Regions from separate parts of the Homo sapiens genome. Here region 1 is linked to region 2. Evidence: promoter capture Hi-C in human tissues and cell types (Jung and others, 2019). All regions are on one chromosome and are shown on one strand. The core of a region is centred on a gene start or on the middle of the fragment in contact, and the rest is flanking DNA. Distances in the headings are between cores, read along the strand shown.

Evidence for each region. Contacts are between HindIII fragments. The study calls those that stand out against the background at their distance.
Region 1: a fragment that was not itself captured here is called in contact with the fragment with the promoter of SERPINB5 in region 2 in 1 of the 25 tissues and cell types used here (mesenchymal stem cells).

The regions. Positions count from the first base shown.
Region 1 is chr18:63,506,579-63,513,879 of GRCh38, reverse strand. No RefSeq gene overlaps it. Among named protein-coding and RNA genes, the nearest start is that of SERPINB12, 32 kb to the left of the region's middle. RefSeq lists an enhancer at 2,161-2,681. The HindIII fragment of the contact is 6,170 bases long and covers 1-5,204 here.
Region 2 is chr18:63,473,158-63,480,110 of GRCh38, reverse strand. It overlaps SERPINB5 (serpin family B member 5), which reads right to left and starts at 3,153. Exons shown (of 7, transcript NM_002639.5): 1 at 3,066-3,153. RefSeq lists an enhancer at 3,205-4,404. The HindIII fragment of the contact is 6,902 bases long and covers 1-4,903 here.

The sequences.
Region 1 (7,301 bases), core at 870-3,369, 35 kb before region 2:
CATGGTTTTGGACCCCACCATAAGCTGATTCATCTCTCGCCTCTAGAAACACTAGTATCCTTTCCTGTCTCTTGCTGAATGTCCCATTGGCATCTCAAAATCAACATAGCTAAAACTAAAAGCAACTAAAAGCATGTTAAAAATGAAAACAAACAAAAAACCCTACTCCCCATCCTGCCCTTTTTTTTTTTTTTTTTTTTTTTTTTTTTTTTGCTGTTAGAAAAAAATGCAACCCCACCTTTCTTGGGACAAAAATTTCATAGAAGTCAAAAATGGCAACAGACCTCTAGATAAAAGCATTAGCAGAGTTCCAGTCAGAATACTGCACTCCCTTAATGCTCAATTTAAAATGAAACCTAAAGCAACAGAATACATTGAGTATAATGTTTCTTAAGAGAATTCATCAGCAGATCTATACCATTAAAGTATTAGCAAGAAGGTATGTTTCCATTGAATTACTTAGTATGTTCCTATAGTACAGCCAAAAGAGATGCACACACATCAATGGCTATCAACAAAATGTTAATATGAACGCACCTGCATACTTCTCTCCCTTTATCCTTCCTTCTGCCCCTCTGCTGCCAACCTGGTAAACAAGTTGTAATATACACTGCTCAGAGGCAGTTTAACAATTCCATGTCCATGATGCCTCTTTTATGTCAATTACAACAAAAAGATATTTACAAACCAGCTAATTGGCTAACTCTTTTTATTCTACATTTTCAATTCAGGACACCTATGAAACTTAGATGTTGCAAAATAATAAACTTTGTCCATAATAAACACAGGGACTTTTCTAAAAATGTTCATAGAGGCCTATGGTTATCATCTGAAACCATCTTCCAGATCTGGAGATGCCAGCAGAGAGCCCTGCCCTTCAAAACGGAGTCCTGTACACAGTCACACTGCACTTCCCATGTCCAAGATGGTTCCATTAAGTTGTATAAGCCTGAAAATGAAGAACCATCACAATACCCCTGTGGTCCTTCACCCACACATCCCTACCCAATAAATCACCACACCCATTTGTGTCTACACTGGGAAAATGGCTCTCCAGAGCGCATATCCTGATATCCCCTTCCCATCCCCACCACCACTGCTGAAGCTGAGGCCTCACACACTCTCACCTGGGTTACTTCAACTCCCTCCTCACCTGTATCCATTCTTTCAGGCTTCACCAGCCACTGGCCAGGTACACTTTTCAAAAATGCAAATCTGAGCTCTCCTCTGCCCTCCTTTCAACTACTGAGACTCTCAGGAGGCTCCATGTCTGTGGCAGTCTGTGGATTCTGAAACTTGGCCATCATGACGTAAGTATAGAAATGGAGATTATGAATCTAGAAACTGTTAGGAAAACTTCACCAAGTAATTTTATGTATGTCGAAACTAATCATGAAAAGCTAGGGCTTCTGTTTTGGGTGTCTTCATTTTTTTATTTTACTTTCCTTGGAACTCATATTTATTTTGTTTTACTTAAGTATTGGTCTATGATGAATTGGTAATATAAAGGGGGAAACTGTTCCTTCACCGTAGGTAGTTTGACAGGCACCTCTGTGAATTGTCTTCCTCCTCCTGATCGTCCTTGGGATGAATTTCAACCTCCTAGAGTGTTGGGGTGTCATGCACAGTCCTGCCTACACTCACCACCCACCGCGACCCCACAGCCATTTCCTTTCTCCTGAGTCCTTGCTGTGTGTGGGCCACTAGCCCCCCGGCTTTGTTTTCCTAACTAATTCCTGCTGGTCCTTTCAGACTCAGCTCAGACTGAGCCGGGAGTCCTCCTTCTTGCTCCAGCGCCCCTCCAATAACCCATCGCAGCTCTGCTCGCGGCTCACTTTCTCTTACACGGCTATGAGCTCTGTGTCTTATTCCTACCTCTTCTCCCACACTTTGGCCAATAAGTTTTTATCCAAAGAATTAATGAAAAGATGAGTAATTAGATTGACGAAAATTTCCTTGATAACCTTGTGGACAAGATGGAGACAGCAAATGAGGGTCTAGTTAGGTCGTTTCAGATAGCTGTCTATTGGATGCTCAATACAATGTTATTAAATGAAAAAATAAATTTATGACTGGGAATGAAGTGCTTAAAATTATTGAATACAGAGTGCAAATCTTCTTTAATGCTTACTATACCTCCATTATCAGTGCCTGTGATGAATTTTGGTAACAAAGAGAACAATATCCAAATGGTCTCCTGTTCGCCAGCTCAGGCAGGCCAACTCTGAGGCCAGCAACATTGCAATGACACCTGCCCAACGATGGGAAAACCTGTTCTCTATGTGGAAAGCCATTGACCTAATTATCCAATCCGCGGAGTTCCTGCTTTCCCCTAAATCAGCAAGAAGAATTAAGGGCAAGAGAAAACAGCTCATCCTAACTTCCCAGCACCTCCCTCTAGCGGCTGACTAAATTTAGCTATCGACAGCAGCTCTTGACAAAGGAAAGAAGGCTTGTTTATTTGGGTGCTGTGCACAAGTGTCCATCTCTCCAGTACCCAGGCTTTGGTTCTTAGGCATCCAGCTCCCTTTATCCAGGCATCCTCCCTAAGGAAAGATGGAACTAGAGATGGCAACGACTCCTTTTGGACCCCAGGTTGACTCCAGTCAGGTCTCAGCATGTCATCACGGCTATCAGACTGCTCCTTGCAATAAATCAGCTGATACCAGCGCCCCTCACTCATGCTCTCCCCCAGGGTATGTCCATCCTCCTAAGCAGAGCCTACTTCTCATCAGCTTATTTGCTCCTAAAATCTATATACTCCTAATTGCCCTAATTTTACAGAGGATCATTATCTTAGCAAGGTAACATATCGAATTGATGATGATGATGTCAGTAATGGTAATGATAGTAGTACTGAAGATGTAATGATGCTCTTTTTTCTTCTGCAAATTTTTCTGAGTACTGAACAGGGCCACTGCTAGCCTATACCCTATCTTTTTGTGAATGCAAAAGAGGTGACCCTTTCTCAGACAGGCACAGCCCCACACCCTGGAGCCCTGCTATGCAAGTGGACTACAAGCTTGACTTCAGCTCCCTCTAACCATCTCTGTAGGATATCCTTGTGCAGGGATCTACCTACACACCTGTATGCAATGGTGCTCGTGTGGGCAACAGCCTGAATAAACAGTAAAAGACTAGGCAGCCTGCAAGAAAGAGGCAAGTCTGTGTTTATATTTGGGCAGGGGAAAAGCAGCTATATGGTGTGGAAGAGAAGTTGGTTGCATTGTCTTGACATTTCCTACCTCCCTCAGTAACTTTGGGATTGCTGGAAAGAAAAAGTCATTTCACCACTAATATGTGGTCCTAGAATTGACATAACAAGTGAGTCTTTGCCTCACTTGTTCTCATTTTCCTGCCAAAGTTGGGGGGAGGGGGGCGGCGCACATAGCAATCATGCCTCTTCACCTTTGGGAGGACAACCTTTGTTCCTAGTGTCAGAGAGGAGTGTCAGACCCTTGACCATGCTTTTAGGGATGGAAATGGCAGCCGTCTCCACATAGATGGATGGGTGAGGGATGGCTCAGGATGGAGGATTTGTTTGGGCCCCGTGAACTATTAGCTTCAAGAGGAATCTCAGAAATCCCTGAGATAAAGACCCTCCCTCCCTCATATACAGGTATTGATAGGAGTGGTTTGGTTGCTGGAATCCAGGGCTTCCTCCCACACCAGGGTTCTTTCCATAGTATCCACATGGCAACCGGAAAAATCTTGATTTTTCTTACTAAGTCTATTTCCCAGCTAAGTTGACTTTTCCCAAAACTCACTCTACTAAACAATTGTCCTCCAAGATGCAGGGTGACTACCAGGTTTAGAGGTCGTATAAATTTAAGAAACCAGGACGGGCACGGTAGCTCACTGCCTGTAATCCCAGCACTTTGGGAGGCCAAGGTGGGCGGATCGTGAGGTAGGAGATCGAGACCATCCTGGCTAACACAGTGAAACCCCGTCTCTACTAAAAATACAAAAATTAGCCGGGCGTGGTGGCGTGTACCTGTAGTCCCAGCTACTCTGGAGACTGAGGCAGGAGAATGGCGTGAACCCGAGAGGCAGAGCTTGCAGTGAGCCGAGATCATGCCACTGCACTCCAGCCTGGGCAACAGAGCGAGACTCCGTCTCTAAAAATAAAATAAAATAAATAAGGAACGAGACACTGTACCCTCCTCCAGATATTCAGAAAAGACGTCAACTGCGTCAATTTTTTTTTTTTTTTTTTTGAGGCAGAGTCTTGCTCTGTTGCCCAGGCTGCAGTGCAATGGTGCAATCTCCTTTCACTGCAACCTCCGCCTTCCTGGTTCAAGTGATTCTCCTGCCTCAGCCTCCTAGCTAATTTTTGTATTTTTAGTAGAGTCAGGGTTTCACCACGTTGGCCAGGCTGGACTCGAACTCCTGACCTCAGGTGACCCACCTGCCTCAGCCTCCCAAAATGCTGGGATTACAGGCGTGAGCCACTGCGCCCGGCCACATCAACTTCTTGAAAGCTTGAAGAGTACTGCAGAACCTGTTTAATTTGGTTCAAAACAGCTTTTTCAAGATTTTTCAACCACGGACTCCTATTTCATAGCAGCTTCTCATACCCTACACAACTACTGTTCCTCCAGACACACTTTCAGAAACACAAGACGATCTTGTTTTATGTCATCAGAGAAGCCCTCATTAGATGCAAGAGGCAACCAACACAAACACATAGATCACCTGCCCATTCAAACTCTATTTTCCATCCATTGAAAATATGCCTTGGTATTTATTTTACTGTGTGATAGATCCTGTCCCAGGAGATGTGAGAAGTGCAAAGCAGCCTGTGATAGAGACAGGGAGGGCTGTCATTTCAGGCCACGTGCAACTGGCAAGACTCCTCAAATGCGGTCAGAAGTTCCAGGGACACGTCTGTATCTATCTCATCTCTAATGGAGAATAATGCCATTTCCTTTGTCTGTTCCAGGCCTTGGGAGAGGAATAGTCATTTGCCGTTAGTGAAACAGTTTGATCTCTTTTCTCAAAAAGCTTTCACAAACTCAAGCAGCTGTTACTGTCTGGCAGAGGATGGTGACAAGGACAAAAGAACAGGGAAACGCCCATCACCTAAATCTTCCATGACTGTAGGGTGGGGTTGAGGGTAAGAATGTTGTGCTAGTGGTTTCTAGTCCAAGAGCTAAAACTTAGAAGGGAAGTCTTTTTAATCTGATATAAATCACAAATGCCATACAGTTGACTGAACAGGACTCCTGAGAAAGAAACAGAATTTTCCAAAAATTACATTTAACCAGACATATTTGAAAAGCAAGTATTTATGGAATGTTTACTTATTATGTAAACATTTAACTTTTATTTTTATCTACATTCATTTGTCTTCTATTCAACATAACATTTCATTTTTAACATAGAGGAAAATCTGCCCTTGAAGCTTTTTGTTTTGTTTTTTCCTATGAATCATCAATTTCTTGATGCAAAGCAACCAACACTAAACAGGCTAAAGGGACTTTAGGTCTCTTTCATTTTTTATTTGTAAAAATGTATGGGCACACATGAAATTTTGTTCCATGTCATGTGTAAAATGTGTAGTGATCAAGTCAGGGTATGTGGCTGTCCATCACCCAAGTACAATACATTTTTGTTAAGTACAGTCACCCTACTCTGAAATCAAACATTGACTCTATTCCTTCGATCTCACTATATGTTTGTACCCTTTAAGCCACTTTTCTTCATCTTCCCCTCCTCCCCCAGCTCACCCCTCCCAGTCTCTGATCTCTATCTTTCCACACTCTACCTCCATGTGATCAAATATCGTAGCTCTCACATATAAGTGAGAACATTTAATATTTGTCTTTTTATGTGGGTTATTTCACCTAAGATGATTAATCTGTCTTATTTTACTTCAGATAATGACCTTCAGTTCCATCCATGTTTCTGCAAATGACATGATTTAATTCTTTTTTATGGCCAAATACAAGTAAGTTTTGTAATATAATCAAATCATAGTGATTAAAAAGTATGGACTGTGGAGTCAGAGAGCTGGGGTTTAAGTCCTAACCATATAACTCAGTAGCCATCTGTGCTCAGCAAGCTTTTTTGTGTCGCATGTCTGAACTTTAGCACCTTTCACCTCAAATGGTGCCCCATAGGGTTGCTGTGGAAGCTGAATTATAACATATGTCATGTCTAGCAAAGTGTCTGGCTCATAATAATTTCTCCAAGAATGGCAGTGGTGATGGTAGGAGTCATAGTTGGAAAAAGTAATCACTCATAATTATTATACAATCATAATGAAAGATAGAGAGGCACTGGGAAAACCACTAAAATATATATATACATTTTATATATATATAAAATGTATATATATATAATATATATATGTGTGTGTGTAACAATCAGGAATGCACACATATTTCACCAAAAAACATGTACTAGAATATTCACAATGGTACTATTTGTAATAGCCCAAACCTGGAAATACCCACATGTCCATCAAGAGTAGAATGAATAAATTGTGATATATTCATAACATATCAATCACAAAGATTTTAGAAATCTTAAACAGATAGTGGCTCACGCTTGTAATCCCAGCACTTTGGGAGGCCAAGGCGGGCAGATCACCTGAAGTCAGGATTTCAAGACCAGCCTAGCCAACATGGTGAAACCCCGTCTCTACTAAAAATACAAAAAATTAGCCAGGTGGGGTGGCAGATGCCTGTAGTCCCAGCTACTCAGGAGGCTGAGGCATGAGAATCACTTGAACCTGGGAGGGAGGGAAGTTGTAGTGAGCCAAGATTGCACCACTGCACTCCAGCCTGGGCAACAGAGAGAGAGACTGCCTCAAAAAATAATAATAATAATAATAATTACAGATGATTAAGTATAGAGGTGTCCATAGTAATATTATCTATAACAGAAAAACCAGAAACTAGCTGAATATTCATCAGTAAGGAAATAACTAAATATATGTTTTCATAGTCATAATGTTCACAAATCCAAGCCCTGCTATTTACCCATTTGGAGGCATTATCCAATTCTTCTAAGCCCATATTTCCTCATAAAATAGATAGGCATGGCCCTTAACTTCAGGGTCACTGTGAGAATAAGCAAAGGCAGTAATTGGGCCCCTTACTGGTGGACTGTCTCTGACTCTAGGGATGTTTTAGTTGACAAGGAAAGGACTGCCAGGATATGACAAATATTTGGAACTCCTCCTAAATAGAGAAGGTCTGGAAGAGAGGAATTCTTTCAGGTTCATTCAGTGACCCCTGTCAGGGATCGCTGTCAGTTGGAAGAGGGCATGGAGCAGAGAGGTTAGGAAGTCCAGC
Region 2 (6,953 bases), core at 1,904-4,403:
AAGATGAAGTGAGTCTCCCAGGCCACCCACGCAGGGAGTGAGAGTGGCAAAACCAGACCTAGAATTCATTGCTTCTAGCTCCCAGCCTGGCACTTCCCCGCCACACCTGATCACCTGCTTTCTTGTTAATTGCATCTTTGCTGGCATTTGTTCTCTCAGAAGTCTCTCGAGTTCCAAAAATCCTGCATGTCCTGAAGTCTCCCCTTGAAGATATCAACATATCCTGCATGGTTTGTTCAATCGACACAAAACTTCTTCCCTATGATTTTCCTACTTGAAGAAGCCCTTGTTCCCTTTCTGCCACTTATGTTGTAAACTCTTGGTATGATGTTGCTTTCATCTAGTAAGTATTAACTGAGTACCTAATTTGTGTCAGGGTAAGCATTAAGAAAAGGTGAAAACGACATAGCCCCTGCCTCCAAGGAGCTGTCAGTTAGTGGTATGATGACTGTTTTAAGTGTTTTGATGAGCACCCAAGTCACTATGGGATCCCCAGGAGTGACAGACCCCCCATACTAGAAACCTCAGTGACACCTCCTCAGAGACAGTGACAACTGAGTAAGTCACATTAAAGGTGAGTCCTACAGGATAAGTAGGAGTTAGCCTTGCAAAAACGTGGGACAGGGAGAACTGACTCAATTCAGAGAGGCCCCAGTGAATGGAGACGCATGTACTGGGCTGGGGGTAGGGCCGTGCTCACTTCTCTAGACTTATAGCTTGTCACTGGTCTTTGTATGAAGATTTCCTAAGTTTTTTATGCATCTGAGCCAATGGTCCTCACATTTTTTGTCTTTAGACCATTTAGGTGAGAAAAAAGTCCTGTGGGTAGGATATATACATCCCACTTTGCCTGGGACAATCCTGGTTTATGTCTGTTGTCTTGACATTGATAACAGTGCCCCGTTTACTCTCAAACATATCCTGATTTGAACAATATATGTTCATTTTACTTATAGACCATCAACCACACTCTTCACCCACACATCACGGGCGTGCATATTTAAACAGAGCTATGAGTATAGTTTTTTCATCCCTTAAAACCTTAACTTTTGGCCGGGTACAGTGGCTCACACCTGTAATCCCAGCACTTTGGGAGGCCAAGGCGGGCAGATCACTTGAGGTCAGGAGTTCGAGACCAGCCTGGCCAACATGGTGAAACCCTGTGTCTACCAAAAATATAGAAATTAGCCGGGCGTGGTGGCACGTGCCTGTCATCCCAGCTACTTGGGAGGCTGAGACAGAAAAATCACTTGAACCTGGGAGGGTGAGGTTGCGGTGAGCCAAGATCGTGCCACTGCACTCCATCCTGGGTGACAAAGCAAGACTCCATCTCAAGAAAAAAAAAAAAAAAACTACGTTTTTACTGTGTCAGAGTATCGTAGATATCATTTAGCCTGGCCTGCCTCATTTTAAAGATGGAAAGACATGGTGAAAAACATCTCTCAAGTATTTGGTATAACCAGTCCTTAGGGAATGCCATGAGAAACCTTGCCTATTATAATATCAGTAATGGAATGCCAAAAAACACAACCTCTGTTGTCCACATTCTAAGTCTTTGAGGAGCAAAGGATGTGCAGGATTAAGAAAATAGGATATTTTGAAGTTTCTGCAATGTGAAAGACTATGAGGACTAAACGAAGTGATTAAGTGAATCAATGTATATGAAAAGTGCTTTGTGGGCAAGAAAGTACAATACAGCTATTAGTAATTGCTTTAATTTCCCATGGCAGGGGGGCGTCTGCTTTGCTCTGAAGCATCATAGCTGCTCCTGTCTCTTTAGAAGCCTGATCTTGACCACTGACCCAGCCCACTGTTGCCAAGCAGTAAACTTACAGCCAGACTCAGCCACACCAGAATGGCCCAAATCGCTGAGACTGCATAGCCCCAAAGTCAATCCACAACCCAGAGGGATTGAAGTGGCACAATTCAAGGCGTTAGGAAGCAAAGATATAAACCTGCTGACTCATTTCCTTTGGAGACTCCTTTCCTCAGACAGGCTTCATCTCCACCCATGAAGGAACTCATCGAACACTTACACTAACTGACAGGGACTGAGGTTTGGAACCCATTATCGAAAACCTCCCGGGAGATGTAGGGGATGAAAAAGATGGTAACAGAACCCACGGTGTTGTGGAAACATCCCGAGCTGCAAGTGTGAAGGCCTGATTTGATCTCAGCGGTGCTACTTACAAGCTGTGTGCCTTTGGACACCAGATCACCTCTGTGAGTTCTGCTCCTCATCTACAGAATGAGGGGGCTGGGCTGAAATATGTCTAAGAGCCCCCAGCTCTGAGGATCTGGTTACAAGTCTCTGGAATAGCCTGGCATGTTGGTTTTTAGTATGATATGCTTAAATGAAGCCATAAGAAAAAGTGTACAGCATATGAGTAAGAAACTACAAGCAGCTATTACAATTTATAAGTCCAAGAATATGCATCTGAAATGTGTAACTTGTTTAAAGTTATGCTGAAACCCAGAAAACTGAAGGGAGAATAATTTCCGCTTAGAAGAATGCAGTTGCAAGTAGATGAACAGCGATCTGATGCTTAAAAATGCCAAAAAGAAGGGCAGTCCATATGCCTAAATCTCAGCCTTACAACGTCAGCCAGGGAGAAGAGCCAGCCAGACCCACCAATACTTCTCAACTTTCCCCAGTTTGCGGGTACCACACCCTTTCTGAAACTAGCATTGCAAAATTCATTCTGAGTTCCAAAGTAGGCCTGAAAATGTCCTCAGAAGTATTTTCTCCTCCGTGAATCACGGTTGCACCCCTCTACCACCAAAACCTCCGAGCCACGTGACTTCTTCATATTCTTACCTTGTATGGTTAAGTGATTTTACTCCCTCTGCAGTGTTCCTGGTGCTCAAAGGGTTGGGAGCTGGAAATACTGCCAACATGGGGGATGAGAGGCGACAGTACTCAACCCAACAGCCCGTCTTTGAAAACAGCCCCAAAATGGACCTAAGTCCATTTTGTTCACCATCTCAAATCAGCTCAAATAACGATATTTATGAATTTCCCTGAAAAAAGGAAGTCACCAGCCCTGCTACCCCACCTTGCTTACCTGGAGTCACAGTTATCCTGGAAAATGCGTGGAAAAGGAACAGGCAAGCGAGGAGCACAAAGACCTGGATGTGGAGGCGACCGTGTCTGGGCAGAAGCAGCGGTGGCTCACCTGGGCAGCACCGCCACGCCCACTGCCAGCCCAGCTCCACGCCCCGCCCCGCCCCGCCTCGGCGGCACTCCTCTCCTACTCAAGCCTCTTGGCAGCTTGTCCACAATTGAAAGAAATGATTCAGGCTGAAGTTACTGTTGTCTGCACAGCTTCCAAAAGGCCTCCAACATGTTCGGGCAGGAAGGGGCTGTGAGTTACATGCATACGTACAGACATGCGTACGGCAATCCTCTCGGCCCACGCAGGACCGGAAGGTGAAATATTCGATGAAATAAAAGTAATGTGTGATGATAGTAACACTACAAATTTCTCAGACACGTTGGTGGCACAAAAAGTACTCTGATCTCCATTCTTTTTGTGTAAACTGCAGCAGCTCATTCTGCTAGATGCCAAGAGAGGTAGCTGCCCATTAAACAGAAAGACAATCAAAAAAGAAGGAATGGATATATGTATAAACACAGTGCCTACCTAAAAATTAGGTACTATTAGCAAAATATTTACTACCAAATTGGTAGGAGATATTGTTTAATGGGTGGCGCAGGAAGTTTCTTTTTAAAATCCTGTGATTAGGATTACTCAGGCCTGGCGCGGTGGCTCACGCCTGTAATCCCAGCATTTGGGGAGGTTGACGTGAGCGGATTGCTTGAGCCCAGGAGTTTGAGACCAACCTGGGCAACATGGTGAGACCCCATCTCTACAAAAAATGTAAAACAATAGCCTAGTGTGGTGATGCATGCCTGTGGTCCCAGTTACTTGGAAAGCTGAGACGAGAGGATCACTTGAGCCTGGGAGGTCAAAGCTGCAGTGAGCCGTGAGCTAACCACTGTACTTCAGCCTGGGTGACAGAGCAAAAGAAACAAAAAGAAAAAGGAGTACGCAGCTCTGCTCTGAAATCTCTTCGTGGAGCCTGTTCTTGTCCTCCTGTCTTCCCACAGCTTCTTCATTTGGCGGGACCTACTCCCTTCCAGCCGAATCAGTCTCAGGAAAGGACCTGAAACGGAGCTGGTTGCTTCTCTGCTGTGCTTATCTAGAATTCCCTATTGTACATTTACTACATTGTTTCATAATAATCTCTTACATTCTCCTATATGTGACTACAACAATGTTAAAGGTAAGTGCCAAACTTCATTCATTTTTATAACACCAAAGCTTGGTACAGACCTGATGTACAGTATGCAGTCAATAAGTGCTTGTTGAGTAATGAATAAGAGCAACTCGCTATATTAACTGACTAAACTAAGATTGATAACAGCTTCCCCTCCCCCATGTCCTGGGTATTTTAATGTTAACCAGAATCAAAGTCATAAACTAAGTGAACTCCAAAAACAGAATTTTAGGCATCAGTGGAGCAAGTGGAGGGAAGGTCATAGGTGAGGAGGTGTGGAAGGATGCTTCTTAAAAATTCTATTATCCAGCTGTAGGAGGGAAAATGAGAATTTGGGAGCAGAGTCATAAATTTGCAAACTAAGTCTAACCACTCATTGCTTGAGAAATCCTGAGCAAATTGCTTAATCCCTTTATCTTCAGATTCCTCATCTGTAAAATGAGATCTATATATAGTTCTCATTTGTCAATAAGATCGATAAAATGAGATATAGACAGAGATGGATGAAGAGACAATTCTTACATACTTTCTGACACATAGCATGTGCTTCCTAATGATGGCAATTAGTACCACTTTGCCCATTGGTTAGGTAGGCTCGGGGAATAGTGGACAAAAGACTGGAGCATGTTATTGACATTGAATTCACCACATTTATTGAATACCTGCTTCGTGCTTGCTACTGTGGTCTACAGATTTCAAGCGACTTGCATTTAAATGGTAGAGCCTCTCTATTCTCCTTTTTGAAGTTTTAATTCCCTCTAAAACACTCCTGTTCAGTGCTTGCTCAACCGGGGCAGAAACATTTCCAATGACAGGAATTCAACAATACCCAAGGAAGTTCTAGCAAAGTGAAATGCCTTTGGGTGATTCTAACTGGGTGAAAATTAGAGGCACCATTCGACTGGGGCTATAAGACATGTTCCCTCTCCCCAAAGGGTACAGTAGGAAGACAAGAAACAAAAGAAAGTATCTGGAGGCATGTAATAAGGGACTTAAGAGAGGTGCAAATGACAAAAGTAGTTCAGAGATGGGTGTGACCTTTTCAGTCTGGCTATGACTGGGGAAGGATCATGGAGGCAGCATCATTGGACATCAGGAGACCATTTAAGCCTGAGAACGGAGGTCCAGAGCTGGGATGATACAAGGTATATTGGACAGATATGTTAACAAAAGATTAAACAGAACATTTCCTGTCAAAAGCTTTCACTTGTTGAAGTATCTCTGGAGGTCAGACCCTGTACGTGAATGTTCTCACCCTCTCATTGAACCCAAGTAAGGCAAGGACTCACAAGTCTCAGGTGTAACATCATTGACAAAACACACTGTTGATTTAGGCAAAATTGCAGGAAAAAAAAAAGTGGTTCCCATTCAGTGGAAAGAGTATTAAAACTGTGATTCTATTTGACTGAGAAGACCCATTTCCCAGTAATATTCTTTTCCACGGCAGCCAAAATTTTAAGTTCTTTAGAATTCTACCTAAAAAGACACTAGAAAACAGAAAAGTGGGAGAGGATGGAGTTATACAAGCAGTTCACATTTTTTAAATTACAGAATTTCAAACTAGTTTCTGGAGAACATGCCTGCTGATTAATTTTAGGAAAGAGTGGCCTCAATAAAGTCTTCTGCATTCAATAGGTTTCTACTCTGCTTCCCTGTTTTAACTGGACATTTTGATTGGAGTCTGTGATTGACTGAATAAGCATTTTTTGAGTGTGTCAGACCCTGGGCAAGACCCAGAATAAGACCTAACTATGGATCTCAAGCCGACTACAGTTTAGCTTTGCATTTCTATAAGTCAGATACCTACACTAATTGTTATACTGTAAAAAAAAAAAAAAAAAAAAAAAAAAAACATACATCCTGAAGGAAATGCCTGGAAAGAACAAAGTTGTCATGTCAATTATGTTAACAAGTGGACTTAGAAGCATCAGACTTATAAGAAAAAAGGTTCTACTCATACTAATAACTCAGAGAGCAACAACATAAAAATAACAATATGGTGTTATTATCCTGTTATAATCTTCAGTCTCTTGCCTCATGAAAAGCTTTTTATGTGGGCCCATGAATAGTCAACTCCAGAGTATTTTTGATCTCCCTTCTTCTTGATGAACTTTGAACCTATAAGAAGCAGATATAAGGCCAGATTTTATAGTTTTCTATATGATATACTATACAATTCACTTATTATGTTTACTGTTGATGGCCTCCTTCAGCTGAAATCTAAGCAGATTTTTTTGGTCTGTTTTTTTCACTGATGTAGTCCAAGAACTTAGAATAGTATCTGGCACATAGTGGGTACTTAGCACATAGTGGGTAGAGAATGAATGAGTGGGAAATAACCCTACCCGACAGGAATTCAACTAAGGATGAATTCAACCCAAAATTTGAAGTCAGTTTGACATTTCCTTAAATACCAGCTACCTTTCCTCCAGTTCTCTTTGTATATGAAGACCAGTACATCTGATTCATCCCAAACACTTTACATTTGTAAAATAAATGATTCTTTTTTTTTTTTTTTTTTTTTTTTTTTTTTTTTTTTTTTTGAGACGGAGTCTCGCTCTGTCGCCCAGGCTGGAGTGCAGTGGCACGATCTCGGCTCACTGCAAGCTCCACCTCCTGGGTTCATGCCATTCTCCTGCCTCAGCCTCCCAAGTAGCTGGGACTACAGGCGC